Linked DNA regions of Homo sapiens: regions 1, 2, 3 and 5 are each linked to region 4. The links are contacts of gene promoters, found by promoter capture Hi-C in human tissues and cell types (Jung and others, 2019). All regions are on one chromosome and are shown on one strand. The core of a region is centred on a gene start or on the middle of the fragment in contact, and the rest is flanking DNA. Distances in the headings are between cores, read along the strand shown.

The links. Contacts are between HindIII fragments. The study calls those that stand out against the background at their distance.
Region 1: a contact is called between a fragment that was not itself captured here and the fragment with the promoter of A4GALT in region 4, in 3 of the 25 tissues and cell types used here (IMR-90 fibroblasts, aorta and mesenchymal stem cells).
Region 2: the fragment with the promoter of PACSIN2 here is called in contact with the fragment with the promoter of A4GALT in region 4 in 4 of the 25 tissues and cell types used here (liver, lymphoblastoid cells, mesenchymal stem cells and 1 more).
Region 3: a fragment that was not itself captured here is called in contact with the fragment with the promoter of A4GALT in region 4 in 5 of the 25 tissues and cell types used here (H1 embryonic stem cells, aorta, liver and 2 more).
Region 5: a fragment that was not itself captured here is called in contact with the fragment with the promoter of A4GALT in region 4 in 3 of the 25 tissues and cell types used here (lymphoblastoid cells, mesenchymal stem cells and spleen).

What each region holds. Positions count from the first base shown.
Region 1 is chr22:43,135,787-43,140,928 of GRCh38, reverse strand. It overlaps MCAT (malonyl-CoA-acyl carrier protein transacylase), which reads left to right. Exons shown (of 4, transcript NM_173467.5): 3 at 3,631-3,848. Among named protein-coding and RNA genes, the nearest start is that of MCAT, 5.0 kb to the left of the region's middle. RefSeq lists an enhancer at 3,321-3,490. The HindIII fragment of the contact is 7,455 bases long and covers 1-5,142 here.
Region 2 is chr22:43,013,889-43,019,096 of GRCh38, reverse strand. PACSIN2 (protein kinase C and casein kinase substrate in neurons 2) reads left to right here and starts at 3,948. Exons shown (of 11, transcript NM_001184970.3): 1 at 3,948-4,076. RefSeq lists enhancers at 3,461-3,660, 3,643-4,346 and silencers at 3,781-3,970, 3,981-4,030, 4,151-4,220. The HindIII fragment of the contact is 29,159 bases long and covers 1-5,208 here.
Region 3 is chr22:43,092,137-43,097,401 of GRCh38, reverse strand. It overlaps the pseudogene RPS25P10. Among named protein-coding and RNA genes, the nearest start is that of TTLL1, 5.4 kb to the right of the region's middle. The HindIII fragment of the contact is 8,604 bases long and covers 1-5,265 here.
Region 4 is chr22:42,718,838-42,724,360 of GRCh38, reverse strand. It overlaps A4GALT (alpha 1,4-galactosyltransferase (P1PK blood group)), which reads left to right and starts at 3,491. Exons shown (of 3, transcript NM_017436.7): 1 at 3,491-3,564. RefSeq lists silencers at 3,392-3,581, 3,612-3,841, 3,922-4,051. The HindIII fragment of the contact is 38,593 bases long and covers 1-5,523 here.
Region 5 is chr22:43,058,781-43,063,998 of GRCh38, reverse strand. It overlaps TTLL1 (TTL family tubulin polyglutamylase complex subunit L1), which reads left to right. Exons shown (of 11, transcript NM_012263.5): 7 at 78-186; 8 at 4,472-4,615. Among named protein-coding and RNA genes, the nearest start is that of TTLL1-AS1, 23 kb to the right of the region's middle. The HindIII fragment of the contact is 4,055 bases long and covers 501-4,555 here.

The DNA of each region.
Region 1 (5,142 bases), core at 642-3,141, 420 kb before region 4:
CTAACCCGCTATCCTGTGCACTCATACCTGCAGCACCTGCAACACGAGAGTATGTGTTCAGTAGATATTCGTTGAATTAAAGAGTAAATAAATATTGGATCTGGAGCCATATCAGTTTTACTTCTTAAGATTTTTGCTGGCCAGGAACCATGGCTTACGTCTGTAATCCCAGTGCTTTGGGAGGCCAAGGCAGGAGGACCACTTGAGGCCAGGAGTTCCAGACCATCTTGGGCCACATAGTGAGACCTTCATCTCTGCCCCCAACAAAAAACAAAAATTACGTTGGGTGCAGTGATTCACACCTGTAATGCCAGCACTTTGGGAGGCAGAGGCAGATAGATGTTTGAGCCCAGGAGTTTTAGACCACCCTGGGCAACATGGTGAAAACCCCATCTCTACCGAAAATACAAAAATTAGCCAGGCATGTTGGTGTGCGCCTGTAGTCCCAGCTCGAGTACTTGGGAGGATGAGGTGGGAGGATTACCTGAACCCAGGAGGTCAAAGCTGCAGTGAGCTGTGATCGTGCCACTGCATTCCAGCCTGGGTGACAGAGTGACACCCTGTCACACACACACACATACACAAAATTAGCTGCACTTAGTGGCATGCATCTGTAATTCCAGCTACTCAGGAGGCTGAGGGAAGATCACTTGAGCCCCTGAGTCTGAGGCTGCAGTGAGCCACGATTGTGCCACTGCACTGCGGCATGGGTGACAGAGCAAGACCCTGTCCAAAACAAACAAAAAAGAATCTAGTATAGAAACACGAGAGGTTATTGGGACTGGAGAGGGAGAAATGGAGAGTGCCTACATAGTGGACATGGAGTGTTTGAAACTAGAGAGAGTTGGTGGTTGTACAACATTATGAATACCCCAAATACCACTGAATTATACACATTAAAGTGGTTAATTATATTTTATGTGAATTTCACTGCAGTGCTTTTTTTTTAAGCGTTATAACATTATTAAGGAAAGTTTCATAATTTCACATTTTATGAAACAATTTTATTACATGTATCATTTTATGTGTACATAATGTGCAGAATTAGGCTTGGTGTGGTGGCTCACGCCTGTAATCCCAGCCCAGCACTTTGGGAGGCCAAGGTGGGTGGATCACCTAAGGCAGGAGTTTGAGACCAGCCTGACCAACGTGGTAAAACCCCATCTCTACTAAAAATTCAAAAATTATCTGGGTGTGGTGGCGTGCACCTGTAATCTTAGCTACTTGGGAGGCTGAGGCACAAGAATCACTTGAACCAGGAGGCAGAGGTTGCAGTGAGCCGAGATTGTGCCACTGCACTCCAGCTTGGGTTAGAGAATGAGACTCTGTGTCAAAAAAAAAAAAAAAAGTGCAGAATTATAGCATAGTTACACTTTTGTGTTTTCTTTTTCTTTTTCTTTTTTGAGGCAGTATCTTGCTCTGTCACCCCAGCTGCAGTGCAGTGGTGCAGTCGTAGCTCACTGCAGCCTCAGCCTCTTGGCCTCAAGTGATCCTCCCGCTTCAGTCTCCAGACTAACTGGGACTACAGGCTCACACCATCATGCCCAGCTAATTTTAGAAGTTTTTGTAGAGATGGGGTCTCGCTATGTTGCCAGGGCTGGTCTGGAACTCCTGACTCAAGTGATCCTCCAGCTTCAGCCTCCTACAGTGCTGGGATTACTTACAGGCATTAGCCACTGTGCCTGGCCTACTTTTTTCCCTTGACATTTTACATAGTTTTGAATGTCTCTGTGGGAGGATGTCTGCGTGCTCTCCTCCCTTTTCTTGTATGTTTTCTTCTACTTCTTGTCACAGGCTCTTGTTCATTTGTTTTTTAAGAGACAGAGTTTTCCTCTGTCTTCCAGCCTTGAGTGCAGTGATGCAACCATAGCTCACTGCAGCCTCTAACTCCTGATCTCAAGCAGTCCTCCTGCCTTAGCCTCCTAAGTACCTGATGTCACAGGCTGTTTATGTATTTGTCCTCCTGTTCTTGTGTAAGGGAGCTAAAAGTCCAGTACATAGAAGTGCTAAGTGAATGAAGATATGTCAGGATTTGCTCCTTAGACCTCTCTGTTGACCTGTGAAACACTGTGCAGGTCCCTTAATCTCTTCTCAGTCTGGTCATCTCTTCTCTCTGCCCAGGAAGCAGGACCAGGGTGTCAGGGGTCTGGTAGTTTCAGGCCATTCTTATGTGTGGCTTTGTAGGGATTTTTGAGACAGGGTCTCGCTCTGTCACCCAGGCTGGAATACAGTGGCATGAACACAGCTCACTGTAGCCTCAACTTCCTGGGCTCCAGCAATCCTCCCACCTCAGCCTCCCAAGTAGCTGGGACCACAGGCGCACACTGCCACGCCCGGCTAATTTTTGTATTTTTGGTAGTGACAGGGTTTTACCATGTTGTCTAGTCTGGTCTCGAACTCCTGAGCTCAAGTGATCTGCCTGCCTTGGCCTCCCAAAGTGCCGGAACTACAGGTGCGAGCCACAGCGACCAGCCCTCAGGCCACTCTTATTATCATTGGCACTGCCTGCCCTCTCTCCATGCTCTTGAGCCACACTGAATCAGGAGTCATAGGTTTTCGTTCATCTGCATTGGCTGTGTCAGGTTCTCCAGCTCTAAGTGGGGACAGTAACACTTGACTTATGACAATTATGTCACTGAAATTCATGTAGTACAGTAGCCCATGTCTCTGATGGTTCTTTTTTGTTGTTCTTGTTTTGAGACAGGGTCTTGCTCTGTCACCAGGCTGGTGTGCAGTGGAGCAATCATAGCTTACTACAGCTGCAGCCTCAACCTGCTGGTCACAAGTGATCCTTCCGTGTCAGCCTCCCAAGCATCTGGGACTACAGGCAGGCACCACCATGCCTGGCTAATTTGTATTTTATTTTTTGCAGGGACAGGGTCTCCCTATGTTGCTCAGGCTGGTGTCGAGCTCCTTGGGCTCAAGCCGTCCTGCCTCAGCCTCCCAAAGTGCTGGGATTACAGGCATAAGCCACCATGCCCGGCCTGATCTCTCTTAATAAACTAACTAATAATAATTCCCAGCTTTCACAACAGCCCAGGCAGATTAGATATTATTATCCTCATTTTACTAACTAAAAATTTGAACCTCAAGGAGGTTGTGACTTGGCTAAGGCAATGTGGCTTCCACCCTGTTCCTCTTTACCTTTTACCAGGGTTTCTCAATAGTGGCACTATTTAAAAAAAAAAAAAAACAGTGGCGCTATTGGGCCAGGTCATTTGTTTTGTTGGGGGCAAGGGGGGCTGACCTGTGCAGTGCAGCATGTTGAGCAGCATCCCTGGACTCTACCCACTAGACGTCAGTGGCACTCTCCCCTAGTCAGAACAACCGGAAAACGTCTCCGGACACTGCCCCCGGCCTGTTGAGCACCACTGTCCTACTCCAAACCAGCTTTATAGCAGGAAGCTCCTTGGGTTAGTTTGTATAGTGCCAAGCACAGCAGCATACTTTTGGTGGTGAGCGCTTGTGCAGTCGATGGAGGTGTGTGGAACTGTGGCCCTGCTGGCTGGTGGCAGACACCAGTGCCCCTGTCTCTAGTGCAGAGTGGAGCTTGGGCTTTGTTTCTCAGGCCTGGCCTTTTCTCCTTCATTCTGTGCCCTCATTTTTCCAAATGCGCTTCTCTCTGGCCAGGTTTGTATGCAGTGAAAATCCGAGCTGAGGCCATGCAGGAAGCTTCAGAAGCTGTCCCCAGTGGGATGCTGTCTGTCCTCGGCCAGCCTCAGTCCAAGTTCAACTTCGCCTGTTTGGAAGCCCGGGAACACTGCAAGTCTTTAGGCATAGAGAACCCCGTATGTGAAGTGTCCAACTACCTCTTTCCAGATTGCAGGGTGATTTCAGGACACCAAGAGGTGGGTGTTGATGGGAACTGCCTTCATAGGCCAGTCCAGTACGGAGGGTTGGAACTGCTCCACACCCGTGAGGCCTAGCAGTCTGGCGGGTGCTGGGTCCAGCCCGGTCTTTAGGAAGTATTTTGGGGCCAGGGCAGTGAGGTAGACCGAGTGCTGCAAAGCAGGCAGGAGCAAGAATGCTGCCCTGCTCCACCACGTGTAGAATGGGGTCTGGAACCAACCAGCCAGCCCATGTCTAAAGTAAAGGGGCAGGGCCAGCTGATCTCCAGGGCCCTTCCCGTAGTACATTCTGGGCTTCTGAGGAGCCTGTGATCTGGTTGCTTCCTTAGAGAAAAGAGATTTGTTTTCTGCTAGATTGCTCTGCCTGCCCTGCTTTTTTTAGGTGTCTGTTTTTGCCCTGGAGTTCATTTCCTTTCCACCGTATTTCCTTCCATTTGCTACTTCCCCAAACATTTATCAAGGGCTGGGGACGCACAGACTGATTAGCCAGGGTTCCTGCCGTCAAAGGAAGAGCCCCGTGAATGGATGACTCCAGGCCGAGGGGTGCAGTGAGGGTCTGGCTGGCTACTCATGGGCCTAAGAGCAACCCAGGAGGCAGCAGCTGGAGGACGGGCATGTGTTTGCCAGCAGGGGGCACCCTGAGCAGAGCGGCAGGAGCCCCCTACAGAAAGAGCAGTGGGTGCTGAGTGCCTGGCTCAGGGAATGCTGAGTGAGCGCAGATTGCAGCCCGTGTGAGGGGCTGCTGCCCGGGCCAGGCATTTCTGTCTTACTTCATGTCCCTCACAGCCCATCCTGTGCTATATGGAAGGAAGGGATTCTTTTTTTGTTTGTTTGTTTGAGACAGGGTCTCACTGTGTTGCCTAGGCTGGAGTATGGTGGCACCATCACGGCTCACTGCAGCCTGGACCTCCTGGGCTCAAGTGTTCCTCCTACCTTAGCCTCCTGAGTGGCTTGGATTACAGACACGGGCAACCACACCTGGCTAACTTTTGTATTTTTTTGTAGAGACGGGGTTTCACCGTGTTGCCCAAGCTGGTCTTGAACTACTGGGCTCAAGGGATCCCCCCACCTCAGCCTCCCAAGTAGCTGGGACTACAGACACAGGCCACCACACCCAGCTAAAGGAAGGGATTCTTAATCACATTTTCCACACAAGGATGCTGAGGCAGAGAGAGGCAAGTGCTTGGGGATAGTAGAGGCAGAATGGGAACCTGAGTCTGTCTCACTCTGGAGTCTGTTTCCGCCACTTGACCGTGCTTGGCTCCCCTTCCCCTTTGAGGGCTCACCGTGTGCC
Region 2 (5,208 bases), core at 2,699-5,198, 290 kb before region 4:
AAAAAGTGAATATACCCTGAAGCACTTTTACAAAATCAGGGGTCCTTGAACACACTGAACAATGACCTGTGCCAGGCCCCATGCTGAATATTGCAGAGCGAACTCACAAATCCTCACAGATTCTCTAAGCTAACAATCACTAGGTTTTGTGATTATCCCCGTTTTACAGTAGGGAAAACCAAGGGCTGGAGTAGTGAAGTCACTTGCCAGGGCCGCAGAGCTCCTTGCCGCTCGGCTGCCTTACTGCCTTGTTTCCCCTGGCTTCTCTTTGTGCCTGCAATGCAGCCAAGTGGAACCCTCCTCTCTTCCTGGACAGGAGGAGTTCTTGCCTCCTGATCTTTGCTCTCTGTAATCTTCCACTCATTTTGGCTCAGGTAAACAGCACTGTTTTCAATACCACTGCACCCTCTTCTGTTCTAAACTCTATGTCCTTGCCAGATCTTTCCAGGAACATCAGCAGGACCCAGGTCCACCCCGAGCCACCTTCCCTGCCTGGCACGTTCTAAATATTGGAATTATTGAGTGAGTGAATGTCTGTAACTGATTTTGATTTTTTTTCTTGAAAGACATGTATCACTGTACAATCCATAAATCACTGTACTTATCACACTGAAAATACACGTATCACTGTATTTTCAGCAATACAACTATATCTGGATGTTTTAAATTTTTTGAGAATATGATATTCTCTGTGCAAGTATGTTTTAGCCCAGACTGTCTGTTTATCCAGGCTGCTTAGTGGGAAATGGTTAATAAAGGACTAAACTAAAGCCGGTCAGTCTCAGTCCCAGGCACTCTGTGGCAATGGTCACATTTTGGGGGAAGGAAGGAGCAGCTGACAAGGCATGACCACATGTCCACCGTTCAGACACAGCATTCACAGCCGTGTGCCCGGAACAGCTCTCCATGCTTTGACTCCTTACCACAGCCCTGTTGCTCTTCCTAATCCCCATATCACGGAGGGGACACAGAGGTGCAGAGAGCTGCAGTGACTGGCCCAAGGCCCCTTGGCTGAAAAGGGGTGGAGGCAGGATTGGGCTCCAGGCCTGTTCAAATATGACTGAAGGAGGAGGCTGGATGGAATGTTGTGAAATGTTTGTGGGGAACAAAGTTGGGGTGCTCACATGTGGCAACGGGGAGCTATCTTTGGAAAAATACCCTGATAAGCTGCCAGGACAGAAGGTATAAGGCCCAAAGAGTTCAGGCAATGATGTCAAGCTGCTAGGTGCAAGACAAGGAAAGGAATTTTGTGTTTGTCCTGAGAAGGAGGAGGAGAGAAAAGAAGAGGGGGAGAGTGCAGAAAACCAAAGGCATGTGAAGTGGCCAGAGTGTGGCATGGGTCACGTGACCAGGTGGTGACTCCTGGGGCCAGGCAGCCAAAAAGGCTCACGAGGCATCCTGTCTTGTTGCTGGGCAGTGCCAGGCTTGATGCCTCTCTCCAGCTTCCAGTCTTCAGGAACCCCTGCTAGACTCAGCAGTGCTTGGAGTGCAGGGGGATTCGTGCAACTGGATAAGGGGATGATGGTGAGACCAGTGAGCATGCGGTGTGTGGAAGAGCAGGAGGCCTGATGACAGACGCTTGTTCAGAAACCTTGGGAGAGGCTGCGTACAGTGGCTCGTGCGTGTAATCCCAGCACTTTGGGAGGATGAGGCAGGAGGATTGCTTGAGCCCAGGAGTTCAAGACGAGCCTGGGCAACATGGCGAGATTCTGTCTCTACAAAGATTTTAAAAAATAATTAACTGGGCATGGTGGTGCGCACCAGTGGTCGCAGCTACTTGGGAGGCTGAGGCAGGAGGATGGCTTGAGCCTAGGAGGTCAAGGCTGCAGTGAGCCATCATTGTGCCACTGCATTCCAGCCTGGGCATCAGAGTGAGACCCTGTCTCAAACAAACCAAAACAAAAACCCCCAAAAATTTGGGAGAGGCTCTGTATTTCTTTTTTTTTTTGAGGCGGAGTCTCACTCTGTTGCCCGGGCTGGAGTGCAGTGGCGCGATATCAGCTCACTGCAAGCTCCGCCTCCCGGGTTCACGCCATTCTCCTGCCTCAGCCTCCCGAGTAGCTGGGACCACAGGCGACCGCCACCACGCCTGGCTAATTTTTTGTATTTTTAGTAGAGACAGGGTTTCACCATGTTAGCCAGGATGGTCTTGATCTCCTGACCTCGTGATCCGCCCGTCTCGGCCTCCCAAAGTGCTAGGATTACAGGCGTGAGCCACAGCGCCCGACAAGGCTCTATATTTTTATAGGGCATGGAATTGCGATGTAAGCGGAACTTACCCAGATATGAAAGTGCTGAGAGCTGATGGCTGAGTTCTATCTATACAAATGGTCCACAGGTATTGTGGGTGGCAAAGAGGTCCCTGTTGGCTCAGTCCTGGAGAATGAGGAGAGACTTCTTGGCAGTGGTTTGTCCTGGCACTGTGTGTTGGTTTTTTTTTTTTTTTTTTGAGATGGAGTCTCGCACTGTCGCCAGGGCTGGAGTACAGTGGCGTGATCTTGGCTCACTGCAACCTCCGCCTCCCAGGTTCAAGTGATTCTCCTGCCTCAGACTCCCAAGTAGCTGGGATTACAGGTGCATGCCACCACACCCAGCTAATTTTTTGTATTTTTAGCAGAGACAGGCTTTCACTGTGTTGGCCAGGCTGGTCTCAAACTCCTGACCTTGTGATCTGCCCGCCTCGGCCTCCCAGAGTACTGGGATTCCAGGCGTGAGCCACCGTGCCTAGCCGGTTCTTTTGTTTCTTTCTCAATTATTGTCATAAGGACAATGCCACAGAGCAGTCTAGAAAGTAAACAACCACTAGATTTCTTTGTGGACTCTTTTCTCATACCTATCTATATGTAGCAGCAATTCTACAGTTTCTACCATTTTGTATCTAGCTTTTTCTTTTATTATTATTTTCTTTTATTTTACTTTTTAGAGAACTGGGTCTTGCTATGTGGCCCAGGTTGGCCTCAAACTCCTGGGCTGAAGCGATTCTCCTGCCTCGGCGTCCCAAGAAGCTGGGATTCCAGGTGCATGTCACCATGCCTGGCTCTATCTGGCTTTTTCTTTTAACGTTTTAGTTTAAGCATTTTCCCATAGTGCTACACAGTCATCATTATTATTCTCAAGGGTTGGGCTGACCTGGGTTTCTAATCCTGGCTCTGCCATTTACTCTCTTTACTCCACATCACCCCCAGCAAGTTACCTGGCTCACCCCTCACCTGGGGTTCCTCTCACCATCCTCTCCACCTGGATGACATGAAGCAGTGCTTGGACAGCGCGTAGGACAGTGCTCAGGAAGTGCTCTCCATTTTCCTTCAAGAGTATTTCCCTCTGCAGAACGGGGCTAATACCCTATCATGCAAGGTGATTGTGAGAATTGGAAAGAATGCGTGTGCATTGCCTGGTGCCTTGCCATCCAAATATATTTTATTAGAGAGAGCAGCAACATACGCCCCCCCAACCCCCCGTTTAAACTAAGCGGGTCCACGTGGAATGACGCTTTTGGCGCAAGTCGGAGGAGCTCCTAACGACATTAGCTTCTTTGAGTCCCTTGGGAGAGGAAACTTTCTGAAAGACTGTAGGATTACCTTCCCTGAACTTCCGGTCAGGTGCGGTGCTGCCCTGCCGCGCCCTCTTACCCCTGGATGCCGACGAAACCGCAAAACTCCAGCCCCGGGAAGCGCGTCTCAAGGACCACCACCAGCGAGCGGCTTTGGGAGAGTAATCTGCGCCACCCTCGCAGCCCATTAAATAGGCACTCCCCGTTTGATTGACAGGAGAAGTCACCAATGCGCGTCCTGGGGCTTTCCCTCGTCCTCACGCGGGGTGAGCCGCCTCTCTACTCATCTGGCCCAATCGGGGGCGCCGGGGAGGCTGTGGGGCGGGGCTCGGTGTCCGGTAGCCAATGGACAGAGCCCAGCGGGAGCGGCGGGGGCGGTGCGGTCGCGGCTGGCGGCAGAAGCGGCCGCAGGGGTCTGGGCAGGGCTGGGCAGTGCTGCCGGAGCAAAAGCGGTAGCGGGAGCCCGGCCGGAGCTGGGTCTGGAGACGCCGTGGCAGCCTGAACGGAGTGTGCGACGGATTGGGAGGTGAGTGGCCGCCGAGGTCAGGGGTCGCCGCGACGGTTGGGGCGCCGCGGGCGGGACGCGGGGGCGCTGGTCCGCGGCCGGGCCCGCGCCCCGTCAGGGCCGCCGCGCCGAGCTCCGCGCCCTGAGGGAAGCGGGTCGGGCCGCGCGGAACTTCCTGTCTCTGTGGGAGGGGGCGAGTGCTCGGGGCCCCGGGGGGCGCCTGGAGAAGACATCTTGGGGAGGACGAGGGCGAGTGGGGTCGGCTCGGGGAAGGGGCGGGGGCCCATGGGGGCGGCGCTGTGGGAGCGGGGCAGTTTTCCGGGGTCCGGGGCCTGCTGGAGAGGGAAGTGCAGGAGCAGGGCCGTCGGGGGTTAAGAGCTGCTAATGAGTGGGGGAGGTGTAGACAGCTGCAGAAGGGGGAGCTGGGGCGACTTTTGGAGGGACGCGATTTAGGAGAAAGCTGGGAATCCGAGACGTGCAGAGGTTAGGCGAGGGTGCCGGAGCAACGCTGGAGGGAAGGCGTGGCTGGGACGCGCCGGTGAGAGGGCAGGGCTTAGTCCTGGGGTGGCCTGGGGGGCGACGCAGGACACACGCGGGTGCGCTGATTTCGGGCGCTTTGATGAGCGGCCTCCATTTCCTTCCTTCCCACCCTCCGTGTCCCGGGGGGGGGGGGGTGGTGTGTGTGTGTCTGTGTGTGTGTGTGTGTGTGTGTGTGTGTGTAGGGCGGGGGGAGCAAAGCCCTTACCGCAGCACGTCCTAGGGCTGGGGCCAAGCAGGAGAGGCCGGGGAGGTTTGCCCTTGTGACCCTCCTCAGAGTTTCCCCAGACTCACTGAATCAGAAATCCGAACTCCTTACTCCTCTAGGGCTTTCAAGCCTGGCCAGGCATCCTGAGAGGTCCGCAATTGGAGAGGTAGTGATTGCTGCTGCTGTTGAATTTCATTGATTCATTGGGTTTCGGCTCCATCAGAGAAGGTCGATTTTCTTTTCAGAAGGAGTTGGTTGGTCAGGGGAGCAAGCTGTGCTATTGCTTTGGGGCCCACACGGCTGCAGCCTTTGACGTATAACAGGACCTGGGGATGCCACTCTTGGCTTGGGTGCCTGAGGGAAGGTGGCCTTTGGCTGGGTGTGTGCACCATTCCTGGATCCTGTCTT
Region 3 (5,265 bases), core at 2,347-4,846, 370 kb before region 4:
TCTTGCTGCATCCCAGGAGGACCCAGGCCTGAGAGGAGTCTGGGGGTCCTAGCTGCCTGCTCGTTATAGGGTGCAGTTCTTCCCTCCATCCTTCACAGGCCTTACTGGTCATGTTTCAAGGCCAGGCCCATGTAGGTCTCTGGGGTACAGAGTAGAGCCTCTCCAGGCAGGTGAGAGCAGCAGACCGGTGACTGGTCAGCCCCGTAAGACGGGCTCTGTGCTGCCTGGGCTCCCTGAGCCTCCCTTACCTGCACCCCACCTCCCAGGCTCCGCTATCCACAACCCCTCACCCACACACCTCTGCCTTCCTCCTCCACCATCCAGCTGATACAAAAGAAAGAGCACCAAACACAGAGGCCTCCAGACCTGGACTCAGATCCCCTCTGGAAGCCGCTGGCTCCTCCTGGCTTGCAGGGGTCCAACCCCAGGCAATCTGGAGGAAGTCGGACAAAGGATCCGTTTCTGCGTCTCACTGGGCCGTGGGAGAGCGTGCAGGACCCAGCTCCCGGGAAGATCAGCCCCATCTTCCTCAGCTGGGGCCTCTGCTGTCTGTGCTGGGTGCTGCTTAGCAGGGGGTTGGGGAGGAGCTCTAGTCCCTTCCAGCTTCAAGCCCCTTGTCCCAACCCTCCCCACCAACCTTGGGTCCTGCTGTGGGTGGGGTGAACACACACATACACACACAGTCACTCACATGTGTTGGGAATGAAGTTTTTGGTGTCACACACAAAAAAAATTAACACAGAAACAAATGATCTCTCGGCAAGGTGCGCTTTACTTTCTGCAGAAAGGGCGCTGCTCAATAGCTGCTCAGCCACGAGAGCACACTGAGCGAAGGAGACTGTTATTTATAACCTAACGCATCTACCCTACTGCTGTGTCCAGTTTCCATTGGCTGGAATAGGACCTCACATTTTACACTTTACTCGATTGGCTATTGGTTTAAAACGTTTTAATTGGGTAAGGGGGACAGAACAAAGAAAGAAAAGGAAGTTGCCCAGGGATAGTTAAGGGAGCATCTCCAAATAAGGAATGGGACGCACTATGGGCTGGGGCTTTCTATTCTTTTTTTTTTTTTTTTTTTTTTTTTTGAGACGGAGTCTCGCTGTCACCCAGGCTGGAATGCAGTGGCACAATCTCGCCTCACTGCAGACTCCGCCCCCTGGGTTCACGCCATTCTCCTGCCTCAGCCTCCCGAGTAGCTGGGACTACAGGCGCCTGCCACCTCCCAGGCTAATTTTTTGTATTTTTAGTAGAGATGGGGTTTCACCATGTTAGCCAGGATGGTCTCCATCTCCTGACCTCGTGATCCACCCGCCTCGGCCTCCCAAAGTGCTGGGATTACAGGCCTGAGCCACCGCACCCGGCCCGGCTGGGGCTTGTCTAGTTCTGTCCAGGCATGCCGGAGCAAGCTAGGACAGCTGATAGGACACTATATATATATATATAGTGGATAGCAATCTTACAGTAAGAAATTGTGACTTTTTATAATCTTTGAAGAACTTTCCCATTTCTCACACACACACACACACACCACACACACACTCTCACACTCACACAAACACACCACACACACAATAACACTCATTCACACACACAACACACATACACTCACACACAACACACACTCACACTCACACACACTCTCACACTCACACAAACACACCACACACACAATAACACACACACACAACACCCATGCACTCACACACAACCCACATATACTCACACTCACACACACTCTCACACTCTGGGCATGCGGTCCTCTCTGAGCAGCTTCCCCTTGATTGATCATGAACAGTCTTCCTAGGAGCTGCCCTCTGTGCGGGCTGCATGCTGAGCACGGTCACTGGCATGGTCTCATCTGATCGTCACAGCTGCCCCGGGAAGCTGGTTCTATTATTAACTCCATTGTAAAGAGCAGGAGCGAGCAGAGGTTAAGCACTCGAAGTCCACTTGTGGGGAGGCTCTCTGGGGTACCAGTCGGTACTTTTGTTATTGTCCTTTAACCTTCCCTGACCGGACACCTCCTCGGCTTTACCTGGGTGGACACTTGGGTCCCCAGGACTGGGGAACTGGGGCACGGGGGACTTGGTTGCCCAGCAGGAGGGCAAAGGGGTGGAAATGGATGAGAAGGGAAGGGGGAGAGAAGGAGGGAATGGAAAGCCAGGCCCCCCAAGGGAAACAAACAGCCACCCTGTGGGCGGTTCTTGGAGGAATAACAGGTAGGGGCGGCCCTCGTCTCCCACCAGCTCTGGGGATTGAAGATTATTTTCTTTTCTTTTTTTTTTTTTTTTTGAGACTGAGTCTCCCTCTGTTGCCCAGGCTGGAGTGCAATGGTGCAATCTCGGCACACTGCAACCTCCGCCTCCCAGGTTCAAGCAATTCTCGTGCTTCAGCCTCCAGAGTAGCTGGGATTACAGGCACGTGCCACCACGCCTGGCTAATTTTTTGTATTTTTGGTAGAGCCAGGGTTTCGTCAAGTTAGCCAGGCTGATCTCAAACTCTTGGCCTCAGGTAATCCACCTGTCTCAGCATCCCACAGTGCTGGGATTACAGGTGTGAGCCACTGCACCCGGCTGGCTTTCTTATTGTTCTCTGAGCCCCCAGGGACTCCACCCTTTGGCCCTAGGCCAGGAGGCCTGCGCTCTGGGCCTCAGCCCCTTGGGGCTAGAAAAGGGCCTGACAAAGCCAGAGCCTGAGGCCCAGCTGTCTGGCCTCTCCCTAATCCTTCTAGGTGCTCAGGTAAATGGGCAAGGAGGATAAGGAGAGATCCCGAGAGCACCTGGTTCTTTCACCTGGAGAAGAGGCAGCCTTCCCACCTCCATGCTGCAAGGGGGAGGGAGGAGGGGACAGAGACCCTGGGAAGTCAGGGCCTGTGGTGGGAAGTGGGGGAGAAGGGGGCAAGGCTGCTAGAGGCTGAGGGTGGGGCAGCATGGGGAGGAGCATGGCCAGGTCTAGGCAGGTTCGGGTCCAGCTGGCTGGCCAGGGGGCTGCAGTGGCATGGGGCGTGCCTGAGGGCTCCTGTTGGCCTCAGGGAGCATCAGACTGGAGCGAAGGTGAAGTACTTGTGTGTGCTATTGGCTGGCACTGTGACAGCGGCGAGCTGGCCTCCTGGTGGCAGTGTGAGTGGGGCTGATGTGTTGAGACATCTGCCCAGTGACGATGACTGCTGTAGTGATTGCTGCCTGGCCTTGGGCAAGTTACTCACCACCTTCAAGCTTCAGTTCCCATATTTACAAGGCAGGGAGGATGTCACACCCGTTAGAATAACTGCTATCAAAAAATAGAAGATAACAGGTATTGTCCAGGATGTGGAGGAATTGGAACTCTGGCACTGTTGGTGGGAATGTGAAATGGTGCAGCTGCTGTGGAAAACCTTATGGAGAGTCCTCGGAAAGTTCAATATAGAATTCCTACATGATCCAGCAGTCTCACGCTGGGTACATACCCCAGATAACTGAAAGCAAGGAGCCTGGGGTGGTGGTTCATGCCTGTAATGCCACCACTTTGGAAGGCCAAGGCAGGCGGATCACTTGAGCCCAGGAGTTGGAGACAGCCTAGGCAACATAGTGAGACCTGATCTCAGTTATTAAGAAAAAAAAAAAGAATTAAAAGCAGGGTCTCAGATATACACCCGTGTTCATAGTAGCATTAATCACAATAGCCAAAAGGTAGAAACTGATGAATGGATTTTTTTTTTTTGGGTGGCGGGTTCTCGCTCTATCCCCTAGGCTGGAGTGCAGTGGCATGATTTCGGCTCACTGCAATCTCCGCCTCCTGGGTTCAAGTGATTCTCCTGTCTCAGCCTCCCGAGTGGCTGGGATTACAGGCGCCCGCCACCATGCCCGGCTAATTTTTGTATTTTTAATAGAGACGGGGTTTTGCCACGTTGGCCAGGCTGGTCTTGAACTCCTGACTTCAGGTGATCTGCCTGCCTGGGCCTCCCAAAGAGCTGGGATTATAGGCATGAGCCACCAAGCCTGGCCCTGGATTTTTTTTTTTTAATTATACTTTAAGTTTTAGGGTACATGTGCACAACGTGCAGGTTTGTTACATACGTATACATGTGCCATGTTGGTGTGCTGCACCCATTAAATCGTCATTTACATTAGGTATATCTCCTAATGCTATCCCTCCCCCCTCCCCCCGCCCTGGATTTTTTTAAATGCCTTAAAAACATACAATGAAATGTTTTCAGCCTTAAAAAAAAAAAAAAAGGAAATCCATACTACAACAGGAATGAACCTGAGGGCATTATGCTACATGAAATAAGCCAGTCACAAAAAGACAAAAATTAGCTGAGTGTGGTGGCACATGCCTGTAGTCCTAATTGCTCTAGAGGCTGAGGAAGGAGGATCACTTGAGGTCCAGAGCTCAAGGTTACAGTGAGCTATGATCCTGCCACTGCACCCAGCATGGGCCACAGAGCAAGACGTCCTCTCTAAAAATAAATAAATAAATAAATAACAAATACTGTATGATTCTACTTTCTTCCTTTCTTCTTTTTCTTTCTTTTTTTTTTTTTTTTTGGAGATGGAGTCTCACTCTGTCGCCCAGGCTGGAGTGCAGTGGCATGATCTTGGCTCACTGCAACCTCCGCCTCCTGGGTTCAAGCGATCCTCCTGCCTCAGCCCCCCTAGTGGCTGGGACTACAGGCACATGCCACCATGCCCTGCTAAGTTTTGTATTTTTAGTAGAGACGGGGTTTCGCCATGTTGGCCAGGCTGGTCTCGAACTCCTGAGCTCAGGTGATCCACCCACCTCGGCCTCCCAAAGTGTGGGATTATAGGCATGAGCCACCGCGCCTGGCCTCTTTTTTTGATTTAATAAAGTTTTATTTTTGCAAATGTACAGTTGGTTGGACCTGTTCATGTATCATCACCAGCAGCTATAACATCTCCACCCTTGGTATTTCTGATGTAAATTACTTGAGCTCTGTGCTTTGAAACCAGTTTGTTAAGTCCTTTACTAAGGTTCTCCTGAAGGGCTGCCCTGGCCAGGAAGCCTCGAATCTTCAGTTTCTCAGAGACCACAGCAGGGCTTATAAGTTTATGGTTAGGAAGTTCCTTACAGAGTTTGTCATAGGTAGGTTTGTCAAACACGACTCAGTTATTGAGCTTGTCCCGGACTTTGCCTTTGAACCACTTCTTCTTTTGGGCCCTGCCCCCAGATTTGTTCACTGAATCTTTGTCTTTCTTAGCGACTTTCCGGTGTCTTCGTTCTTCTTGTCATCCATTGATAGCACGGCGAAGCTCAGAGAGCAGC
Region 4 (5,523 bases), core at 2,242-4,741:
TGTGCTCAACCTTAGGAGGAAAGGGACCTGCCAGGGTGCTAGGAGGGAGGGAAGAGGGGAGCACTGGGCTCAGAGGCGGAGGGGGTGCTCCGGGGGTCAGGAGAGCCCAGGGCAACATGGGCCAGGCTGTGCTTCCAGGGCAGAGTTTCACAGATGAGTGAACTGAGGCCAGGGCAGGTCAGACACATAGGCTCTTTTGTCCCCTGCTTCCTCCTTCACGCCCTGGCCTCTGAAGCTCTCCCTGCAGTCGGGACAGGTCAGGCTAGAAAATAATTTGGCCTCAAAGGCTGCTGGGGCTTTGGGGGTCAGGCAAATTTGAATTCCAACCTCTGCTTGTTTTTTCCTTTCTTACCTTTATTTTGAGATAGGATCATTTTATGTTGCCCAGGCTGGTCTTGAACTCCTGGGTTCAAATGATCCTACTGCCTCAGCCTCTGTGAGCTTAGGTTAATTTCCATCTTGGGCTCAGTATTTTTCTTTTTTCTGGGACGGGGTCTCGCTCTCACCTAGGCTGGAGTGCAGTGGCATGATCTCGGCTCACTGCAATCTCTGCCTCCCAGGTTCGAGCAATTCTGCCTCAGCCTCCTGAGTAGCAGGGATGACAGGCAGGCACCACCACATCTGGCTAATTTTTGTATTTTTAGTAGAGATGGGATTTTGCCATGTTGGCCAGGCTGGTCTTGAACACCCGAGCTTAGGTGATCCGCATGCCTCGGCCACCCAAGTGCTGGGATTACAGGCTTAAACCACTGCACCCAGCCAACAGCCTCCGTTTTTTTTTGTTTGTTTGTTTTTGAGATGAAGTCTCGCTCTGTCGCCATACTGGAGTGCAGTGGCATGATCTCAGCTCACTGCAACCTCTGCCTCCCAGGTTCGAGTGATTCTCCTGCCTCAGCCTCCCGAGGAGCTGGGACTACAGGGGCACGCCGCCACGCCCAGCTAATTTTTGTATTTTTAGTAGAGACGGGGTTTCACCATGTTGGCCAGGATGGTCTCGATCTCCTGACCTCATGATCCGCCCGCCTTGGCCTGCCAAAGTGCTGGGATTACAGGCGTGAGCCATTGCGCCTGGCCCAGCCTCCGTTTTTTTCATCTGTAAAATGGGGATAACAGGGTGACCTCAGAGGGTTGTGAGATTAACAAGCTGCAAGGAGACCGTTTCCCCAGACATAGCCAGGAAGAGCTTGTGGGTCTGGGCACAGCTCCAGCGATGGCTATTCTAAGAAAGCCATTCCCTTCTCAATTCTCTTTAATCCCTTTGCTTAAGTCCAGGGGCAAGTCTTTGCTGGGTGCTGGCCTGCCTTGAATATCTCTCTACACCTTTCGAATCTTCCTTTTTTTTCTTTTTTTGAGACGGAGTCTCACTCTGTCGCCCAGGCTGGAGTGCAGTGGCGCGATCTCGGCTCACTGCAAGCTCCGCCTCCCGGGTTCACGCCATTCTCCTGCCTCAGCCTCCTGAGTAGCTGGGACTACAGGTGCCCGCCACCACGCCTGGCTGATTTTTTTGTATTTTTAGTAGAGACGGGGTTTCACCTTGTTAGCCAGGATGGTCTCGATCTCCTGCCCTTGTGATCTGCCCGCCTCGGTCTCCCAAAGTGCTGGGATGAATCTTCCTTTTAACAAGGAGAGGGCAGGAGGAACTCAGCTCTTGGAGGGGCAACAGGACCTACCCGGGCTTTATAACATTGTTTTAGTTTTATTTTTACTGTTGCCTTCTAGTCTCTGAGATACTGGTGTTCCATTTAGGGTAGCAATACAAAGTTTCTCTGAAAAATACATTTGTGATCATGGAAAAGCCAACATAAAGCAAAAGCATTAAAAGTATTACAAGTGGGCCAGGTGCCGTGGCTCACATCTGTAATCACCACACTGTGGGAGGCTGAGGCGGGTGAATCACTTGAGGTCAGGAGTTCAAGACCAGCCTGGCCAACATGGTGAAACCCTGTCTCTACTAAAAATACAAAAATTAGCCATGGTTGTGCATGCCTGTAGTCCCAGCTACTCAGGAGGCTGAGGCAGGAGAATCACTTGAAACCAGGAGACAGAGGTTTCAGTGAGCCGAGATGGTGTCACTGCACTCCAGCCTAGGTAACAGAGTGAGTCTCTTCTCAAAAAAAAAAAAAAAAAAAAAAAAAAATGAGTATTACCAGTGGAGAAAGGGTCCGCATTCATTCTTTTTTTTTTTTTTTTTTTTTTTTTTTTTGAGACAGAGTCTGGCTCTTGTCACCCAGGCTGGAGTGCAGTGGCATGATCTAGGCTCACTGCAACCTCCACCTCCTGGGTTCAAGTGAGCATGTCCAGCTAATTTTTGTATTTTGTAGAGATGGAGTTTCACCATGTTGGCCAGGCTGGTCTTGAACTTCTGATCTCAGGTGACCTGCTTGCTTTGGCCTCCCAAAGTGCTGGGATTACAGGCGTGAGTGCTTGCCTGGCCTCTTGTTTCCGTTTTAAGATGGGAGAAGTAACAGCCTGTGATGGGAATGACCCAGGGAGAATGGAGAGAGGGCAGGGTTTCGGGATCAGTGTTGGCGTGAAGGGTCGGGATCTTCTGGAGGGGGTGGTCGTGGCCAGGAGCTGGACGGGTTCAGCCCGGTCCCAAGAGGGAAGGGACTGGGTGCTACCTCAGCGGGTGGGTGGGGGAGCTGGTGGGAATTTTCTACTGATTCCTTCATTCGAAGTGTATTTATTGGGCACCCATTGAGTGCCAGGCTCTTTCTCAGGGCTAGGATAGAGGTTCCATTTTCTCAGTGGCTTGGGCACTGGGTCATCAGCTGAGTGAGAGGATGGGCGTCAGCACTCAAGAAGTCACCCAATGGTTTCATTTTTTGCAGTCTTTGTTGTCCCAGAGGAGTAAGAACTAAAAGCACCAGGACTGTGACATGCTGGAAACATGGCATGTTCCAAAGAGAATAAAATACAGTTTTATGATACACGAATTGTGTGTGATACATTCCAATTTCTCACATTGAACAAATTACCAATAGCAATATGTGTGAAGATGGGGCGAGGTGAGAGTGAGGAGGAGGAGTAGAGAAAGGACGGGGCGGCGTTAAGGATACAGCAAATAACTGGAATTCCGCAAACACTGGGGTGATGCAGGCAATGCCCTTAGCACGGTCCCGGCAGGAGGCGGTGGGATCAGGCCGACCCGGGTCCCAGGGGTGACAGCGTCCCTTCTCCACTGCAGAATATCGAGGTACTCAACCCTCTGAACCTCAGTTTTCTCATCAGTTCAATGGGGAAAACGGGATGGTAACCCGTAATACTGGCGGCGCGGAGGCCGGGGAGCGCTCCCTACCTGTTGGCCGGCGGACTGGGGACTGTCCGCACCCGCCCCGGGGAGCAGCGAGGGCGCGCGGGCGGGGTCGCGGGGACCCCGCAAGGGCTCTGGGGACCGGGACCCGCAGGGTAGGTCGGGACGGGCGGGGCGGGGCGGCCTGACCCCGCCCCGGGCCGGAGGGGCGGTGCTGCCTCCCGCCGGGCCCCAGGCACTGCCCTCCGGCCGCCGCGCCGCCCGCCCGCCGGGGCCCCGCTGTCCGCCGCCCGCCGCCGCTGGAGCTAGAGGTACGAGGGGCCGCGCCGATGTTGCGGGGGACGGGGGCTCCAGGGGGATCCTGCGGCTCGCAGTGGGGAGGAGGCGCCTCGGGAAGGCAGGGGCAGGGGCGGAGGGGCTGGGCCGCCGCCCTAGCCCGGGCCACCTGTTCTGGAGGCGACATTTGTGCGCGCACGAACCCCGCGCGGCGGTCCCGGCCACCGCCTCCACCCCAACTGCGCCCCGAAGTGGAGCGCGGCGGCGGGACCCGGAGCCCCGGCCCTCGCGGGCAGGACGCGCCTGGCTCCGGAGCCCTCGAGGGCAGCCCCACCCGGTTGGGTCCCGGGGCTGGAGAGAGGGCGTCGGGGAGAAGCCGGGTTCGAGGCAGGCTCTGCCCGGCCACCGTGGGTGAGTCGCGCTCCTCCGTCCGGGGGAAGCCTGGGCGTCGGGCGGTGCTCGCCCCGGAGCGGATGCGACCGGGGACGGGGATGGAGAGCGGCCGGCAGGAGGGGGCTCTGCCGGGCTGGCAGCGTCGGCGCCGGCCTTAGGGAGGGTGAGGATTTGGACCTGCCCAGAAGCGGGAAGGGCCCTCCCCGTGCGGGAAACGGCCTGGGTACGAGCTGGGCACGGGGCGAGCCGGTTGGAGTCGCCCGGCCTCCGCGCTCGCCTCGGATCCGCAGGCGCCCCTCCCTCCTCTCCAGCTGGGGAAGGTTGAGGACTGAGCGGGAGCGGAACTGGGCTTGGGAGAGGATCTGCCGGGGCACCTGGTCCCAGCGCCCATCCCGTTTCACTGCCAGGGCGAGTCCCCTTCCCTCAGTTTCATCACCTGTCATCCGGAGGGACAAGTTCCCACCTGGATAGTCTCGGCTGAGCCTCTGGCCCTGAGTGGGTTAAAGCGCCATTTCCCCTGCACCCACCTTTCCCTCACGACACCCTCTCTGCGGCTTCCTCCCCTCCGCCAACGTCGAGTGATTGTTCCGCGAAGGCCCCTTGGGGTCACGTACCCTGCACTCAGCAAATAACCCCGAGCACCTGGTGGGTCTCAGGCCAGGTCTGGCCTTCCCGTTCCCGCCACCAGCTGCCCAAAGACTTCCCCTTTGTCACCTCCTCCCAAAGAATGAGGGAGCCACCCTGCCCAGGGTCCCATAGCAGAGTGCGGATGGAGCCAGGCCTCCCTCAAGATTTCCCACAGCCCTCTTCCAGCCTCAAACCTTCTCCAGGACCCGAAACCCTGCTACACTGTGTTTCCATAGCTGCAACCCCCCAAAAGAGGGTCCCCAAATCAAAGGAATACAAAGGAAAACAAAATAGAAAGGAAAAGAAAGGAAGAGGAGAGATGGAATCCTCTCTGTCATTAGTTTTCTGTTTGTTTGTTTTTTAGGGTCTCCCTCTGTCACCCAGGCTGGAATGCTGTGGCAGCTCACTGTAGTCTCAAACTGCTAGGCTCAAGCGATCCTCCCACCCCAGCTTCCCTAGTGGCTGAGACTGCAGGCACACACCACTACACCCAATGTTGTCATTAGTTTTTCTCTCAAACATTTTTCTAATGCCTTGGGTGCCTGTCGTTTCTTGTCTGCTAGGACAGCTCAGTATTAGAGGATAAACTCCAAAATGGACAGCCATCTACAAAATATGTTTTGTTTCCTTGTACTAATTGAAGCCCTCTAGCTGCTAGGTTAATGGGTCCATTAATTTCCAGTTCGTGTGATGGGCCCTGGGACCCCAGTGTGGAGCAGGATTGGCAGAATCTCCAGGTGGTTTGTGTGGAACACCAGGAGGTTGTGAACTACCACATCAGCCCCAGCTAGCAACTCCCAAGCCCACCTGGCCACGGGGCCACTGGGTTCAGACCTCCAAGGATGCAGTTCAGCTGGGGATGCAGGTCCCGGAAGGTGGTGGCAGGTGGACGGCCTCCACCACCAAGCCAGCCATCTGAGTTCTGAAGTGCACCTCCTCTCACTCTCCCCAGCTGCCTCCTTCTTTGGGGACCT
Region 5 (5,218 bases), core at 1,279-3,778, 340 kb before region 4:
CTCTTTTTAGAGAATGAAGTGGTGTCTTTTCTTTTTGTTTCTCCTCAGAGTTTGAATTAATCTACATTCCCTCCTAGGTACAAGCTTGGGTTTTGCCGGTTCTGCACAGTGAAATACACCCCGAGTACCAGTGAGCTGGACAACATGTTCGTTCATCTCACCAACGTCGCCATCCAGAAACACGGGGTGAGTGTGTCCTTTCATTTGTGCTTACAGAAATGGACTGACTTTCAGGCCGGGTGTGGTGGCTCACGCCTGTAATCCCGGCACTTTGGGAGGCTGAGGCGGGTGGATCACCTGAGGTCAGGAGTTCGAGACCAGCCTGACGAACACAATGAAACCCTGTCTCTACTAAAAAAAAAAATACGGAAATTACCATGGTGGCTGGCGCCTGTAATTCTAGCTACTCGGGAGGCTGAGGCAGGAGAATCGCTTGAACCAGAAGGCAAAGGTTGCAGTGAGCCGAGATTGCACCATTGCACTCCAGCCTGGACAACTGAGCGAGACTCTGTCTCAAAAGAAAAAAAAAAAAAAAAGGACCGACTTTGTGGGTTTCTTTCTTCTATTTTTGCAAGAACAGGGTGGGTATAGAAGTGATACTCAAAGAGTATCCTGGTCTAAGGTCCGGCACTGATGGGACTGGGAGGCTCTAGGCATCAGGCGGGCTGGCCTAGGACACATCAGCTGAATGCCGTGGCTGGGTGGGGGCACCTGGAGAAAGAAGGCAGCAGGCTCAAGCCCTGCCTTTCTAGTTCTGTGGCCTCGGGCAAGTCAGTGTAACTCTCAGAGCCTCGGTTTCTCCATTTATAAAAGGAGATCATAGTATTACCTGGCGGGACTGTGGGAGGATGTCATGAGGTGACTTCTGCTTAGACCATCCCTGAGGTACCCTGCCTCAACTTACAATTTTTCAAGCTTCCAGTGGTATGAAAGTGACATGCATTCAGTAGGAACCGTACTTCAAGTACACATGCAACCGTTTGGTTTTTTACTTTGAGTACAGTAGTCAATAAATTATGTGAGGTATTTCACGCTTTATTATAAAATAGGCTTTGCCTTAGATGATTTTGCCCAACTTCAGGCTATTGTAAGTGTTCTAAGCATGTCTTAGATAGGCAAGGCTATGATATTCAGTAGGTTAGGTATAGAAAACGCACTTTTTTTTTCTTTTTGAGGCGGAGTCTCGCTCTGTTGCCCCGGCTAGAGTGCAGTGGCATGATCTCAGCTCACCACAACCTGTCTCCCAGGTTCAAGTGATTCTCCTGCCTCAGCCTCCTGAGGAGCTGAGACTACAAGCATGTGTCACCATGCCTGGCTAATTTTTGTATTTTAGTAGAGATGGGGTTTCACCATGTTGGCCAGGCTGGTCTCGAACTCATTTTCTCAAGTGATCCGCCCACCTCAACCTCCCAAAGTGCTGGGATTACAGGCGTGTGCCACTGCGCCTGGCGTTAAATAATGCAGTTTCTTTTTTTTTCTTTTTTCTTTTCTTTTCTTTTTTTTTTTTAAGAGACAGAGTCTTGCTCTGTTGCCAGGCTGGAGTGCAGTGCCGTGATCTCAGCTCACTGCAACCTCCGCCTCCCAGGTTCAAGCGATTCTCCTGCCTCAGCCTCCTGAGTAGCTGGGATCACAGGCGTGCGCCACCACGCCCAGCTAATTTTTGTATTTTTAGTAGAGATGGGATTTCCCCATGTTGGCCAGAATGGTCTTGATCTCTTGACCTCGTGATCCACCCTCCTCGGCCTCCCAAAGTGCTGGGATTAGAGGTGTGAGCTACTGCGCCCGGCCAAATCTACTTTCAACTTACAATATTTTCAACTTGCTATGGGTTTATCTGGACATAGCCCCATCGGAGGCCCCATCTGTACCCATTGAGTACCTATGTGAGTTGGTCCCCTTCTGAGTGCCCAGGACACAGTGATAGGCAAAGCCTACCTTAGTACCTACTCTCACAGATCCCAGAGCTTCCAGGGGAGATAGTCATCAAATAATCACCCTGATGAACATGAAATTACAAACTGAGCTGCTTGCTCTGAAAGTGAGGAACACACATCTAGAAGATCATGGAACAAAAGAAGCCCCTTATCCAGTGGTTGGAGAAGGCTTCCCTGCAAAGCGGTGCTGGAGCCGAGATCTGAAGCATGAGTAGGGATAATCCAGAGAGGGTGGAGAAGGTTCCATAGTAGTAGGTACAACGTGTGCCGAGGCCCTGTTGCCAGAGGGAGCATTACAGGGGCTGAAAGGACGCCAGGGTAGCAGGAGCCCCTGGCGTGAGGGCAGTGGATGGGGAGGGACTGGAGAGGCCAGCAAGGGCAGACACACAGGGCTTTGTGGACCCAGTTCAGGTTAGGGGCTCTAATTTCACCCCAACATAAACCAAAGGTCTCGTTTCTTTATGAAAGACTCCTTCTTTGATTTGAATCTTCTTTGGATGGAAGCCTTGAATGCTCTGGTCTGTTTTCTGATTTGAGGAGAAAGAGAGTGAGTATTGGTATGAAATATGCATTTCTGAAGAACCTGCTGAAGAGTTTGGTCAGACGAGGCTGGACTCGGTCCTCTGCCCATCACTTACCTCTGTGTGACTTGGGCAGCTCACCAGCCCTCTGGGCCCCACAGCTGCCAACAGGAGCCAGGGGTTCACCTTGCTGGTCTTGGGATGACGATGGCCACTGCTTACCGGGGCCAAGTGGCTTCCACATGTGGCTGGCCTAACTCGCTTCCCCTTCAGGTCTTCCTCAGAGTAAACCAAGCAAGCATCAGTTTTACAAATTTTATTTTTTATTTATGTATTTATGATTATTAGTTTTTTTAGACAGAGTCTTGCTCTGTCACCCACGCTGGAGTACAGTGGCAGGATCTCGGCTCACTGCAACCTCTGCCTTCCGGGTTCAAGCGATTCTTCTGCCTCAGCCCCCCGAGTAACTGGGGTTACAGGTGCACGCCACCACACCTGGCTGGGGTTTTTAGTAGAGACGAGGTTTCACCATGTTGGCCAGGCTGGTCTCGAACTCCTGACCTCAGGTGATCCTCTCACCCCAGCTTCCCAAAGTGCTGGGATTACAGGCGTGAGCCACCGCGCCTGGACTTTCTTTTAAAATATGGTTAATTCTCCTTTTATCTGCTTTGAGTCAGTGGTGTTTGCTCGAAGAGTTAGTAGGCTGGTTTTGTTTTAGTTCATGGTTCTCACTTTATACTTAGAAAATGAAATGTAGTCTCCTAACAATGTAATACATTTGGGTATTTTCTAGCTCTTTGCCTTCAAAGATAAGCATTGTATGGAGAATTAATTTTCAGGGGTGGCAAAACAGGAAGAGCTCAGAAGTGGCATCAGAACATTTGGGCTGGAGGCCCAGCCCCATCCCAGCCCAGGAGGAAAGCTTGGCCAAGTAACAGCTTCTCTGAGCCCGGCGTCCCCTGTGAAATGGGATGATAATGGCGTCTTCTCAAGGTTGTTAGAGAGTGATGAGTGTGGTGCTTTTAAACTGCAGTGTGAGCCCAGTGTCTTAGGTTGGCTTCCCCAGGAAAGACTCTGAGGTAGAAGTCGGCAAGCTGATGTTGCTGCAGTGGAGGCCTCTGCCCACCGTGGGGCGCTGTGGAGCAGGGGTGGCCCTGCAGAGCTGTCCTGGAGGGAGCAGGGGCTGACACCTGGCATCAGCCAGACATGGTATGCTGTTGCCTTGGGGAGGGCTTTCACCCTGGATTAGGCAGCTCCCTCAAGCCAAGGGCACTCTCAGTGAGGGTGGGTCTCAGCTAGAAGAATGAGTGCCTTGGTCTTGAAGGGTATCCCGGCAGCACTCCACAGCCTGTGCTGTGAGGCATAAATGATTAAGCCTGAGAGTATTAGGGAGATGAGCATTTTAAAATACCCACGGAAGGCCAAGCGCGGTGGCTCACAGTGCAGTAAGCCGAGATCGTGCCATTGCACTCCAGCCTGGGTGACAGAGTGAGACTCTGTCTCAAAAAACAAAAATAAAAACAGAAAAACCCCACATTAATAGGAGGCCCAGGTGGCCGGGCACAGTGGCTCATGCCTGTAATCCCAACACTTTGGGAGGCCAAGGCAGGAGGATCCCTTGAGGCCAGGAGTTCAAGACCAGTCTGGGCAACATAGTGAGACCTCTTCTCTACAAAAAATTTAAAAATTAGCCAGGCATAGTGGCACATGCCTGTAGTCCCAGTTACTTGAGAGGCTGAGGTGGGAGGATTGCTTGAGCTCAAGAGGTCAAGGTTGCAGTGCACCAAAGTAATGCCACCGCACTCCAGCTTGGGGGACAGAGTGAGACCCTGTCTTAAAACAAAACGGAAAATAGCCGGCCCAGATCTCCCTGGGGCAGGGGTCTGGATGTTTGCCTTGTTGCTGGATGCCCACACCCAGGGGGCACTCCAGAAATGCTTGGGGGATGCAACGGTTCCGCTGGGTTCCTCTGGGGTGCATAGCCTGAGGGATGCCTGCCCGCTTTCCCGTCACCAGGAGGACTACAACCACATCCATGGGGGCAAGTGGACAGTGAGTAACCTGCGGCTCTACCTGGAGAGCACCCGCGGCAAGGAGGTGACCAGCAAGCTGTTCGACGAGATCCACTGGATCATCGTGCAGTCCCTGAAGGCTGTGGCGGTGAGTTTGGTGCGGGCGGGGGAGCCGGCTCCCAGGGCCCGTTTGGGAGTGGGGGGGCTTGCTGTCTTTCTGTTAAAAATCCCTGTTTTCAGCTGTGCGCGGCGGCTCACGCCTGTAATCCCAGCAAGCTGGGAGGCCGAGGCGGGCGGATCACCTGAGGTCAGAAGTTTGAGACTAGCCTGGCCCACATACATGGTGAAACCCTGTTTCTACTAAAAATACAAAAATTAGCCGGGCATGGTGGCATGCACGTGTAATCCCAGCTACTGGGGAGGCTGAGGCAGGAGAATCACTTGAACCCGGGAGGCAGAGGTTGCAGTGAGCGGAGGTCACACCACTGCACTCCAGCCTGGGTGACAGAGCAAGACTCTGTCTCAAAAAACAAAAAACAGGCTGGGCGCGTTGGTTAACGCCTGTAATCCCAGCACGCTGGGAGGGCGAGGCAGGCGGATCACCTGAGGTCAGAAGTTCAAGACCAGCCTGGACACGGTGAAACCCTGTCTCTACGAAACATACAAAAAATTAGCGGGGTGTGGTGGTGTGCACCTGTAATCTCAGCTACTTGGGAGGCTGAGGCAGGAGAATTGCTTGAACCCAGGAGGC